Linked DNA regions of Homo sapiens: regions 1 and 2 are each linked to region 3. The links are contacts of gene promoters, found by promoter capture Hi-C in blood cells and fetal thymus (Javierre and others, 2016). All regions are on one chromosome and are shown on one strand. The core of a region is centred on a gene start or on the middle of the fragment in contact, and the rest is flanking DNA. Distances in the headings are between cores, read along the strand shown.

Region 1 (4,048 bases), core at 365-2,864, 120 kb after region 3:
AGATGAGTTACGTGGTTTCCATGGCAGTTGCCAGCCATTACCAGAATCAACCCTGTCAAAGTATTCACAGTTCAAGGTTAGATTTTTGCCATTCTGAAAAAATGACCAATTTCATTTTCAATGTGGATATCTGCACAAACATCACTAACCAACCTCAAGAAGTAAACAGTATGGCTGGTTTTATAAGTTGGGAATGGTTACATCTCATTCCTTGGGAATCCTCCCAAAGAATAACAGTCTCTAGAAGCCTTAAAAAAAAAGTGGGGGGGCTGGGCACGGTGGCTCACATTTGTAATCCCAGCACTTTGGAAGGCCAAGGCAGGAGGATCATCTGAGGTCAGGAGTTCGAGACCAGCTTGGCCAACATGGTGAAACTCTGTCTCTACCAAAAATACAAAAATTAGCCAGGCATAGTGGTGCGCACCTGTAATTCCAGCTACTCGGGAGGCTGAGGCAGGAGAATCACTTGAACCCCGGAAGCAGAGGTTGCAGTGAGCCAAGATCACGCCACTACACTCAGCCTGGGCAACAGAGCAAGACTCCGTCTCAAAAAATAAAAATAAAAAAATTAGCAGGGCGTGGTGATGCATGCCTGTAGTCTCAGCTACTTGAGAGGCTGAGGTGGGAGGATGGCCTGAGCTGGGAGATCGAGACTGCAGTAAGCCACGATCGTGCCACTACACTCTAGCCTGGGTGACAAAGTGAGACTCTGTCTCAAAAAAAAAAAAGTCTGAAAATTTACCTAATGACTGACAACTGGGCCAGTATTTTGTACATTCTAAAGAAGCTCCAGGGTTGGGGAGTGATTTCTAGTTGGTGGAGTACTTTGAGATCTTTGGATTAAAGGCGTCTCAGACACTCAGGATACCAACAGTCAATGCCCTTCACCCTTCACTGACTACCCATATGGTAGCCTAATAAATATGTGGTAAATGGATACCCTTCAGCAACTGAAGAGTTTAACAGTCTAAAAATACCAGCAACAGCATGAAGGGAATACAGCTTCCTCCCTGGAGTGAAAGCTATTATTGCAGTGAGAGAATCCTCATATGGAACAATCCATCCAGCTGTAGGAATTCCTTGAAGGAATGTTGATGCCAGCTTCATAGAATGTGCTTGAGTTCAATGAGACTTTCTGTGTATTATGAATAATGGGCTCAATTTTCCTATTGGATGTTAAGCACTAATACATATCCGAGTAAATATCTGGGGAGGTGTCTTCATTTAGTTTTCTTTGAAAGCATTTTTATCTTGCAGCAAAAGCTTAGTATCCACATGAAAAAAAAAAAAAAGCCAATTCTGATCTATGAGAACCTGACTTCCTTAGTTTACTAAAAAAATACGAAAATAATGTTTAACCACTTGCCACCCACGACTGTGCACTTATTTTTATTTTCATTTATTTATTTCATTTTTTATTTTTTGAGACACAGTCTCACTGTCACTCAGGCTGGAGTGCAGTGGTGTGATCATGGCTCACTGAAACCTCGACCTCCTTAGGCTCAAGCGATCCTCCCACCTCAGCCTCCCAAGAAGTAGGATTACAGGCACTCACCACCATGCCTGGTTAATTTTTTCATTTTTTATCGCTTGTAGAGATGCGATCTCACTGTGTTGCTCCAGCTGGTCTCGAACTCCTGAGCTCAAGTGATTCTCCTGTGTCAGCCTTTGAAACTGCTGGAATTACAGGTGTGAGCCACTGCACCCAGCCCTATATATTTGTATAACCACCATTTTGCGTGTGGATTTGCTTTGTTTCTAATGGGAAGATAATCTGGTCTGATGAGAGGAAGCCATACAATATTCTACCAGCAGACCCCAGTGCTCCACTGATTGGGATAATGCTGCTGGGGACTAAAAACCTAGTCTTTGAAGAGGGAATATGTAATGGGGTCCTACAGCTTTTCAGTGACTCCAATTGCTGACTTGAAAAATTGTAGCCAACCCACATCTTAAAAAAACAAAGAAGCTTTAAGGAGTGTATAAAGAGTGACGGGGAAATTGAATAAATACAACAGAATTCTACTTTCCTTTTTGGATGAGAAAATGCTAAGTTATTTGGCTTAATACCTAGCTGCAATGAACCAATGTGACAGGAAGCACTGCTATTCCCATCAAGCCAGAGGCCAAATACCAACTGCCCACTGGAGCCAGGAGGACATGCAGATGAGAAGAGCCAGACATAACGCAAGGGGGAGTGGTGGGGACTGGGACAAATTGGACAGCCCAGCCCCATCTGAAGGGCAAGGGCTCCTCAGATCCACTGTTACCAGATCTTCAGATGTTTCAAGAAAAGACAGAAGACTGAATTATCATGCAGAACCTCCCAGGGTTGAAATGTTAGCAACTAGAATTCACTGTGTGAGGCAATCAAAAAATGGCAACAGGCTGGGTGCGGTGGCTCACACCTGTAATCCCGGCGCTTTGGGAGGCTGAGGGGGGAGGGTAGCTTCAGGCTAGGAGTTTGAGACCAGCCTGGGCAACATAGAAAGACCCCATCTCTACAAAAAATTTAAAAATTAGCTAGGCATGGTGGTGTGTGCCTGTAGTCGCAGCTACTTGGGAGGCTGAGGTAGGAGACTCACTTGAGCCTGGGAGGTCGAGGGTGCAGTGAGCCATGATGGCACCAACACACTGCAGCCTGGGCGACAGAGCACGCGCGCACTCTCTCTCACAAACACACACACACACCAAAAAAGGCTATTAGTGGAATATGGCCCATGAGCCACCAATATGAAGCAGTAGTGGAAAGGCAGGAAAGGAAATAGGATCCTCTTTTGCTTTTCTTCCACTCCTCATCTGAAGGCCTTTACAAGGCTTTGATGCCAGAACTGGAAGAGACAGGCACGCATGCTTGAGACTAAACATTGAATGAACTTTGGCCAGGTGTGGTGGCTCATGCCTGTAATCCCAGCACTTTGGGAGGCCGAGGTGGGTGGATCGTCTGAGGTCAGGAGTTCGAGACCAGCCTGACCAACATGGAGAAACCCTGTCTCTACTACAAATACAAAATTAGCTGGGTGTAGTGGCGCATGCCTTGTAATCCCAGCTACTCAGGAAGGCTGAGGCAGGAGAATCACTTGTTGCAGTGAGCCAAGATTGCGCCACTGCACTCCAGCCTGGGCAACAAGAGCAAAACTTGGTCTCAAAAAAAAAAAAAAAACAAAAAAAACGAAGGAACTTCAAGGGTAATCTTACATGATGGTGAAAATATAACTCAACGAGGGTCAATTCAATGTTATTAAACAGACTAGCAAAATTTATTGGGCATCAGAACCAAGTTTCTTTCTTTTTTTTGTGAGACAGGGTCTTGCTCTGTTGCCCACGTTAGAGTGTAGTGGCGTGATCATAGCTCACTGCAGCCTCAACCTCCTGTGCTCAAGTGATTCTCCCATCTCAGCCTCCTGAATAGCTGGGAATACAGGTGTGCGCCACCAAGCCCGACTAATTTTTAAAAAAATGTTTTGTAGAGACAGGGTCTTGCTATGTTTCTCAGGCTGGTCTCGAACTCCTGGCCTCATGTGATCCTCCCAGCCTGGCTCCCCAGAGTGTTAGGATTACAGGTGTGAGCCACTTTGCCTGGGTCAGAACAAAGTTTCTTTAATGATACCTATATATCCCTGTAGCAACTTAAGGGTTTCACAACTAATCTTCATATTCATTTTTCAGATAGTAACATGGAAGCACTAGTAGCCCAATGACTTGCCCAAGACTCTACTGCTAGTCAGTGGCAGTGTGAAAGCAAACAAATTGTCTGGATTTTAGTGACTGCTCTCCCACAGCATGGCTGCCCAGGGCGACACATTTGCTATATATTTTGTTTCACTCATCACATTTGACAAAGCTTGAATATTATAATACATGAGAATTGAAAGGGTCATTACAGGCAATGCAACCCCAGCAACTCTGCTTCCATTTTGCTCACGTGCATAACATACTCCCATCTGAAATATTTCCTCACAGCAATTATTCAGAACTGAGGTGGAGAGAGAGGCACAGAACTGTGGAGGGTGGAAGGGAGTGTATATGGAGACAGAACTGCACCCTT
Region 2 (3,916 bases), core at 1,312-3,811, 99 kb after region 3:
GCACAGCCTTGGAAGTCACAGCTGAGCCTGGCTGCCGTGTTTACTAGTCTGGGTGACTTTCAAGCAACTCTTCAATGTTAATTTGATGCAGCTCAATTTGCTCGGCAGAACTGGCTGTTAAATGGCCACCAATCAGTGAACCATCACGCGGAAGAGAGCACCTGCCTTCTGAATTGTGCAGGAAAAAGAGCCCACAGGCTTTTTGCTCAAAGGGAACAAACACACGGAGTTTCAGAGGCTGGATTTCTAGAAGTTGGCATCTCATAGGAAACCTTGTTTTTCTATGCCAATTTTAAACTGTGAGGAAGACTGACAGGACTTCTCAGATATGAGACCTATTTATTTATTTATTTTTGAGACGGAATTTTGCTCTTGTCCCCCAGACTGGAGTGCAACGGCGCGATCTTGACTCGCTGCAACCTCTGCCTCCTGGGTTCATGTGATTCTCGTGATTCTCCTGCCTCAGCCTCCCAAGTAGCTGGGATTACAGGCAGGTGCCACCATGCCCAGCTAAGTTTTGTATTTTTAGTAGAGACGGGGTTTCACCATGTTGGCCAGGCTCATGAGACCTATTTTTCTTTTAGGACCAGTCAACTTATGGAAGCTTGACACTTGGTACCGTTCTTACACAACAACGGGGCCCCCAGGGTGAGTTTGAGGGTGAGCTTTGAGAGTGTAAATGTTCAGAAATAAGGCTTTGCACAGACAACACAACTCAGCCAATAGACATTCTTACCTCTCCCCATCCCTTTGCCGAAGTTACTCGTCTGAGCGCAAAGTTAATGGAACCTCCTCCATTTCCATTCTGGGTTGAGAGGCTTCCAGAGAGGATGGCTGTGTCTGTCGCTGTCAAGGGTGCCTAAAAATGGTATTTGCTGGTAATGAATGAATCAAAACAACAGGAAGTGCCAATGGCAGCAGCCTAAAGAACGCACTGTGAGCCCAAGGCCAAAGGTGCAGACGATTCCTCTGTTCAGAAGCACACATGGATGCAGAACTGCCGCAACAGCTTCACTTTTCTTCCGCTTTGTTATTTGGTCTGCATGTGACCACGAGGGTAATATGCTTTGCAAAAGCTTTAATGGGCACATTTCACAACACCAGGGGAAACATGGGGCTGCATGTCCCAATGGTATCAGATAGCACAGTGACTTCACTGTGTGCCTTCCCTCTGTGGTTTGCCATCAGGGTTCCAGGGGGACTGAAGACCTTCCCATGGCTGTATTCTGTATCAACTGACTCAGGGAGCTCCAAGAGGGGGCAAATTTCCCCAAGTTAGGACTCCACGTTGTTGGCTGATGCAATGGAGAATAAATTAATGAGCTGAGGAGACAAAGACCTACTATAAACGCTCAGGAGAATGACCTGACCTCGTCACATCCAAATAGTGGGCAGAATGGTGACATTTTCGCGTGCCCAGGGCTCAGGATGAGAGCTGCTATAGCCTTGCGGCACCTAGCAGAATTTGCCTTAAAACTAAAACTGGTTGTTAGAATGATCCATGGAGGTCTGCTTTCTCTCCCAGAACCCCATGACCTTGGGCCTCTACTTCTCCCAGACCATTAACACCCTCTGCTGGAAAGGCCCAAGACCTTGGGAGCCAAGTGCCCCAGCCCACACTCCTGCTGGCTCACATGCCAGCACAGCGGTAACACACGGCTGGGAATGAAGCGCTTTCTTTTTTAAGTGGCTAATTGCATCCTTTCATAAATAAAGATGAGAAAAACCCTGGGCAGACTCTCATTCCAGCTGCTTGGTGTGCTGTGCCTCATTAACTCGAGCCCTTGCTGTACTCGGAGAGGTGGTTGTGTGCTTTACCTCAATGGACTGGGATATGTGCATTTTATTAATTTCAATCTGCGGAAAGCTACTGCCGGACACATCTTCATACTCCTCATCATAGCGATCAAAAAGGTCGGTGGCATCTACTCCAACGCTGATCGTTCCCTGGGGCAGAAAAACAAGCCGTCAGCAGAACGGGTGGTATTTGTGGAATGAAAGACAATGCTACACTTCAACAGCCAGCTCGCTTTAATTGAACAAGTCATTTGACTTCAGGGTTCACTGGGTTTAGGTAGGACACTCCACCAGGAAGCCCACAAAGCATGAATGTCACAGTCCGAACCAAACTGCAGAGCACCACAGACGTCCAGAGCTAGAAAACATCATTTGACCAGGAGAGCCGGTCCGCATGTCTGCAGAGCAATGACACGCCAAAGACAAAAGTGTTAGTCAAAGGAGTAAGAGCTAGACAGTTTGATTTTCAGAGACCAAACAGGACCCAAGAATGCACAAAACCACCTAGAAATGAGCTACATGGATTAAACATTTTTTGGTAAACAACCTTATACCACAAAACTACCCTAAAACTCTTTAAATAAAAATACCTTCAAAGATAAAGCAGCACAAATTATGAACAAATGGGAGACTTTAAAATTAATCCACCTTCTCAAATTAATGAGAATTAAGTTTGAGAAACAGAACACTGTATTTGCTCAAGGAATTCTAAGCTAAAATTTTGCTGATAAAAATGCTTGTTACTCAGAAAATCAATGTTTATTATTCTTTGATAGTCACAACTTTAAAAACGGACATTATCTTAATCCAGTATATAAAACCATGGCCACACACATTTTTTTAACTAAACTTTTTGCAGCCCATTGAAACAATGTTTTTTTGCTAGCTTTTCTTTTTTTTTTTTTTTTGAGATGGAGTCTCGCTCTGTCACCAGGCAACATTAGCCATTAGTCCAGTGCAGTGCAGTGGCACGATCTTGGCTCACTGCAACCTCCGCCTCCTGGGTTCAAGCGATTCTCCTGCCTTAGTCTCCCGAGTAGCTGGGACTACAGGCGCACGCCACCATGCCCAGTTAATTTTTGTATTTTTAGTAGAGACAGGGTTTCACCATGTTGACCAGGATGGTCTCGATCTCTTGACCTCATGATCCACTCGCCTCGGCCTCCCAAAGTGCTGAGATTACAGGTGTGAGCCACCGCGCCCAGCTGGTGCTAGCTTTCTATCAGATGCTTCAATCTGAAAATGCATTAACCCTAATAATTACTTGATTTCTGTTGAGGGTGAAACACCTGACATTATGAATGCTACTATAAACTCAATCAAAAAGTTCCACATTAAAGGTAAACGTGTTTGTTTTTGCGGTGATATTCAAATACCAACTTGGAGGCAGTATAGTGTTATGGTAAAAAATTTTCTTATTAAATCAAGAAACCCATGGACTAGAAACATCCTTAGAATTAGTTGTAGTGATACGCATAATGCATAATTGTGTCAAAACAAGCTGTGGTATTCTACCCATGGAAAATGAAGTTGTAGTTGCCAAAATTTACAAATTTTTTATATTCACAGAGTAACAGCATGAACACATCTCTGTCATGATGATGATTCTGAATAATCAACAAAACTGCATGGCAGTATATGAACAATCTGTGGCCAGGTGTGGTGGCTAATACCCGTAATCCCAACACTTTGGGAGGCTGAGGGAGTGGGATCACCTGAGGTCAGGAGTTCGAGACCAGCCTGGCCAACGTGGTAGAAACCCTGTTGCTACTAAAAATACAAAAATTAGCCAGGTACACGTCCCAGCTACTCTAGAGGCTGAGGCAGGAGAACTGCTTGAACCTGAAAGGTGGAGGTTTCAGTGAGCCAAGATTGCGCCACTGCACTCCAGCATGGGTGACAGAGCAAGACTCTGTCTCAAAAACAAGAACAGGCCGGGTGTGGTGGCTCATGCCTGTAATCCCAGCACTTTGGGAGGCCGAGGCAGGCGGCTCACGAAGTCAGGAGTTTGAGACCAACATGACCAACATGGTGAAACCCCATCTCTACTAAAAATACAAAAATTAGCCGGGCGTGGTGGTGCGCACCTATAATCCCAGCTCCTCAGGAGGCTGAGGCA
Region 3 (4,148 bases), core at 1,310-3,809:
GCGTGAGCCACTGTGCCCAGCTCTCTCTTTTCCTTTTCCTTTCTTTCTTTTCCCCTCCCTCCTTCCTTTCTTCCTTTCTTTCGAGACGGAGTCTCACTCTGTCGCCCAGGCTGGAGTGCAATGGCGTGATCTTGGCTCACTGCAACCTCCAGCTCCCGGGTTCAAGCAAGTCTCCTGCCTTAGCCTCCTGAGTAGCTGGGATTACAGGCGTGTGCTACCATGCCCAGCTAATTTTTGTATTTTTAGTAGAGATGAGGTTTCACCATGTTGGTCAGGCTGGTCTCAAACTCCTGACCTCAGATGATCTGCCAGCTTCGGCTTCCCAAAGTGCCGGGACTACAGGCCTGAGCCACCGCGCCTGGCCCATACTTTATATTTTTAAACTAAGATCATACCCCATGGCAGCTACAGAGAAAGCATGGTGACCGTGAACTCGGCTCTGTGCTCCTGGTTCAGACAGACTCTACCACTCTGTCCTTTTAAAGACCCACAGCTTGCCAAGTCTCTTCCAGAACTTCCTGGGTTTTGCCTTCCCTCCTGCATTAGACAGGGAATCTCCAGGAATGGCATCCACGTTAAGAATCAGGCTGCCTGAGTTCGACTCCTAGCTCTCCCTCTACTGTGTAAGTTACCCAACCTCAGTCTCCTCGTCTGTAAACACTTAGAGAGAGGGACAACTACTCCGTAAGAGAGCTGGATGTTTAAATGGGTTCAAAGCCTAAAACACTTTTGGAACCCTTAAATCCTGGAATTTCTGAGCTCTCAGTAATTGCAACCTTTTTTTTTTTTAACTATTAAAATCCCTTTCAGAGTTCCAGGTGCGGTGGTTCACACCTGTAATCCCAGCACTTTGAGAGGCCGAGGCGGGTGGATCACAAGGTCAGGAGATCGAGACTATCCTGGCTAACATGGCGAAACCCCGTTTCTACTAAAAATACAAAAAATATAGCCGGGCGAGGTGGCACGCGCCTGTAGTCCCAACTACTCCGGAGGCTGAGGCAGGGGAATCGCTTCAACCCGGGATGCGGAGGTTGCAGTGAGCCGAGATTGTGCCACTGCACTCCAGCCTGGGGGACAGAGTGAGACTCTGTCTCAAAAAGAAAAAGAAAGAAAGAAAACAAAACAAAATAAAGTCCCTTTAGCTCGTAAGGCCTAGGGACCCCTTAGCAGGGTACCTGTTACCCTGCTGCTCAGGGGAGCCTAGTTGCCACCAACCATCAAGAGGATGGACTTGAATCCGACTGGCAGCCAGAGAACAGGCCCGGGGGACCACGGTCCTCTCCTACCCTGCAGCTCTCCCGGGGCTGCCTCTCCAGCCCTCCCTGCCCTCGGGGACTACTACCGGCGCCCCCCACCTACCTGCTCGACCGGCAGCAGCAGCAACGCGCGGCCGGGGCCCACGGGCCGCACCGGTGGGATGAGGAGAGGCCGGTGGCAACTCGAGGCGGATTCGAGTTCGGGTTCGGACTCGGGTTCGGAGGCCGGGGTCGGGCTAGGGATCGGGCTGGGGGTCGCGGTGTTGGGTCTCCGGGCCGCCGCCGCGCGCGACACCTGGCGGGCTCCCTCCCTCCAGTCCACGCCGGACGCCTGGGCTTGCAGTAACCGCCACCGTAGGCGCCGCCGACCGCACCAGCGCAGGCTCCCGAGCCGGCGGCGGGGCCGGCGGCTGAGGATGAGCTGGGGCCGGGCCTTGCGGACCCGCAGCCAAGTGGAACGGCAGGAACCCCGCTTTAGCAGCAGTCCCGAGTCCGCCATGCTGGGTCCTCAGGGCCTACCGCGCGAGAATCTCGCGAGATCCCGTCGGTCCGCCCCGCTGCCCTCCCAGCTGCCGAAAAGAGGGGCCTCCGAGCCGCCGGCGCCCTCTGCCGGCAACCTCCGGAAGCACACTAGGAGGTTCCAGCCGATCTGGTCGAGGGGCTCCACGGAGGACTCCATTTACGTTACGCAAATTCCCTACCCCAGCCGGCCGGAGAGAGAAAGCCAGAAACCTCGCGACCAGCCATGGGCCACCTCTCCGGAAAAACACCGGGATATTTTTTTTCTCCTGCAGAAAAAGCTTTAGGATTGGCAGTTTAAACAAAACATGTCTATTTGCATACCTTCGGTTTGCATGCATTTGTTTCGAAGTGAGCAACCCTGGGTAACAAGGCGAAAGTATATGACAATTTGCTCAGAATCTTAATGTCAGAAAACTGGAGACTGGGGCAGGGGGGTGTCGACTCAAAGCTGTGTCTCATTTAGTAAACTGAGGCCCAGGTAAAAAGTTCTGAAACCTCGCAACACCCGGAGAAATTGTGTTCCAGCCTCCCACCTCGCCCCAAAATGCCAGAGCTCCTTTTCTAAGCCAGGTGAAGTCACAGAGCGTGGACAGAACCCACAACCGTCCAGAGGAAGGGTCACTGGGTGCCACCTGGTTTGCATCTGTGCCTTCGTCCTGCCCAGTTCCTGAGTGGGACCGCAGGCCCGGAATGTCAAGGCAAACAGTCCTGCTTCAGCCACTGGGCTCCAGTCCCACCCCTTTTGGGGGCCTGAAGTTAGGAAGCATCCGGCAGCTGCCTTCTATTTAAGCAACTGGCCTCCTTAGAGGCCACTCCTTGGCCATGCCAGGCGCGGGCATCTGGCCAGCATGCTGCTCTGCACGGCTCGCCTGGTCGGCCTGCAGCTTCTCATTTCCTGCTGCTGGGCCTTTGCCTGCCATAGCACGGAGTCTTCTCCTGACTTCACCCTCCCCGGAGATTACCTCCTGGCAGGCCTGTTCCCTCTCCATTCTGGCTGTCTGCAGGTGAGGCACAGACCCGAGGTGACCCTGTGTGACAGGTGAGTGAGGGGCCAGCAGAGCCACACTTAGTGGGACCCCTGGCTATAGGGCCCCTCTGGCTGCCATCCTCCAAACAGGACCTTGCCTCTGCCTTTGCCCCTTGAACTGTCCCCAGGCCTTGTTCATCAATCCACTTGCCACCTAAGTGCTGGCTAGACCTTCCTAGACACTTCGGCCAGTTTCCAATTATTTCACCCTTGCTGTTAGAATGTGTTGTATTGTAACTTCATTGAAATTGGTTCTTGGCTTTGTACCATACCTAGGTGGCCAGGCCTAAGCAAGGGCAGCTTTTTCCCTCTTCTTTTTTTTTTTTTTTTTTTTTTTGAGACGGAGTCTCGCTCTTTCACCCAGGTGGGACTGCAGTGGCGCGATCTCAGCTCACTGCAAGCTCCGCCTTCCGGGTTCACGCCATTCTCCTGCCTCAGCCTCCCGAGTAGCTGGGACTACAGGCACCCGCCACTGCGCCCAGCTAATGTTTTGTATTTTTAGTAGAGACGGGGTTTCACCGTGTTAGCCAGAATGGTCTCGATCTCCTGACCTCGTGATCTGCCCACCTCGGCCTCCCAAAGTGCTGGGATTACAGGCGTGAGCCACCGCGCCCAGCCGCTTTTTCCCTCTTCTATCTTCTCTCCACTCCTACCCATGTTCAAAGTTCCCTAGAGTCCCAGATGACAAGTAGGATTCTCCATGGTTCTTCATGGGGTGGGAAGGGAAGACACATCCCATTAGATGCTTTAGGAGCTTGACAAATATAAATTAGGTTGGTGCCATCATGAAGTCAACAATCTAGGTAGAGGGAAACTACTGCTTTTCTTTTATTTCTATCTATCTATCTATCTATCTATATTTTTTTGAGATGGAGACTCAGTCTGTCATCCAGGCTGGAGTGCAGTGGCATAATCTTGACTCACTGCAACCTCCTCCTCCTGGGCTCAAGTGATTCTCATGCCTTAGCCTCGGGAGTAGCTGGAATTATAGGCATGTGTCACCATACCCAGCTAATTTTTGTATTTTTCGTAGAGACAGGGGTTTCACCATGTTGGTCAGGCTGGTCTCGAACTCCCGACCTCAGGTGATCCGCCCACCTCGGCCTCCCAAAGTGCTAGGATTATAGGCTTGAGCCACCGCGCCCGGCCTGCTTTTCTTTTAAAGAAGACAGTTGCAGCCGAGCACAGTGGCTCACGCCTGTAATCCCAGCACTTTGGGAGGCTGAGACAGGCGGATCACGAGGTCAGGAGTTCAAGATCAGTCTGGCCAACATAGTGAAACCCTGTCTCTACATAAAATACAACACATTAGCCGGGTGTGGTGGTGTGCACCTGTAATCCCA

Evidence for each region. The method cuts DNA at HindIII sites, captures the fragments that hold promoters and counts their contacts. A CHiCAGO score of 5 or more calls a contact.
Region 1: a contact is called between a fragment that was not itself captured here and the fragment with the promoter of TAS1R1 in region 3, in 4 of 17 cell types (fetal thymus, neutrophils, erythroblasts and 1 more). The highest score is 5.4, in fetal thymus.
Region 2: a contact is called between a fragment that was not itself captured here and the fragment with the promoter of TAS1R1 in region 3, in 1 of 17 cell types (neutrophils). The highest score is 7.6, in neutrophils.

Annotation. Positions count from the first base shown.
Region 1 is chr1:6,674,012-6,678,059 of GRCh38, forward strand. The region is part of intron 3 of DNAJC11 (DnaJ heat shock protein family (Hsp40) member C11); the gene reads right to left. Among named protein-coding and RNA genes, the nearest start is that of DNAJC11, 26 kb to the right of the region's middle. The HindIII fragment of the contact is 706 bases long and covers 1,262-1,967 here.
Region 2 is chr1:6,652,093-6,656,008 of GRCh38, forward strand. It overlaps DNAJC11 (DnaJ heat shock protein family (Hsp40) member C11), which reads right to left. Exons shown (of 16, transcript NM_018198.4): 5 at 1,819-1,947; 6 at 737-859. Among named protein-coding and RNA genes, the nearest start is that of THAP3, 29 kb to the left of the region's middle. The HindIII fragment of the contact is 2,975 bases long and covers 1,075-3,916 here.
Region 3 is chr1:6,552,748-6,556,895 of GRCh38, forward strand. It overlaps TAS1R1 (taste 1 receptor member 1), which reads left to right and starts at 2,560. Exons shown (of 6, transcript NM_138697.4): 1 at 2,560-2,817. The coding sequence starts at 2,627. It overlaps NOL9 (nucleolar protein 9), which reads right to left and starts at 1,766. Exons shown (of 12, transcript NM_024654.5): 1 at 1,360-1,766. The coding sequence starts at 1,755. RefSeq lists an enhancer at 1-77 and a silencer at 1,472-1,731. The HindIII fragment of the contact is 19,423 bases long and covers 2,055-4,148 here.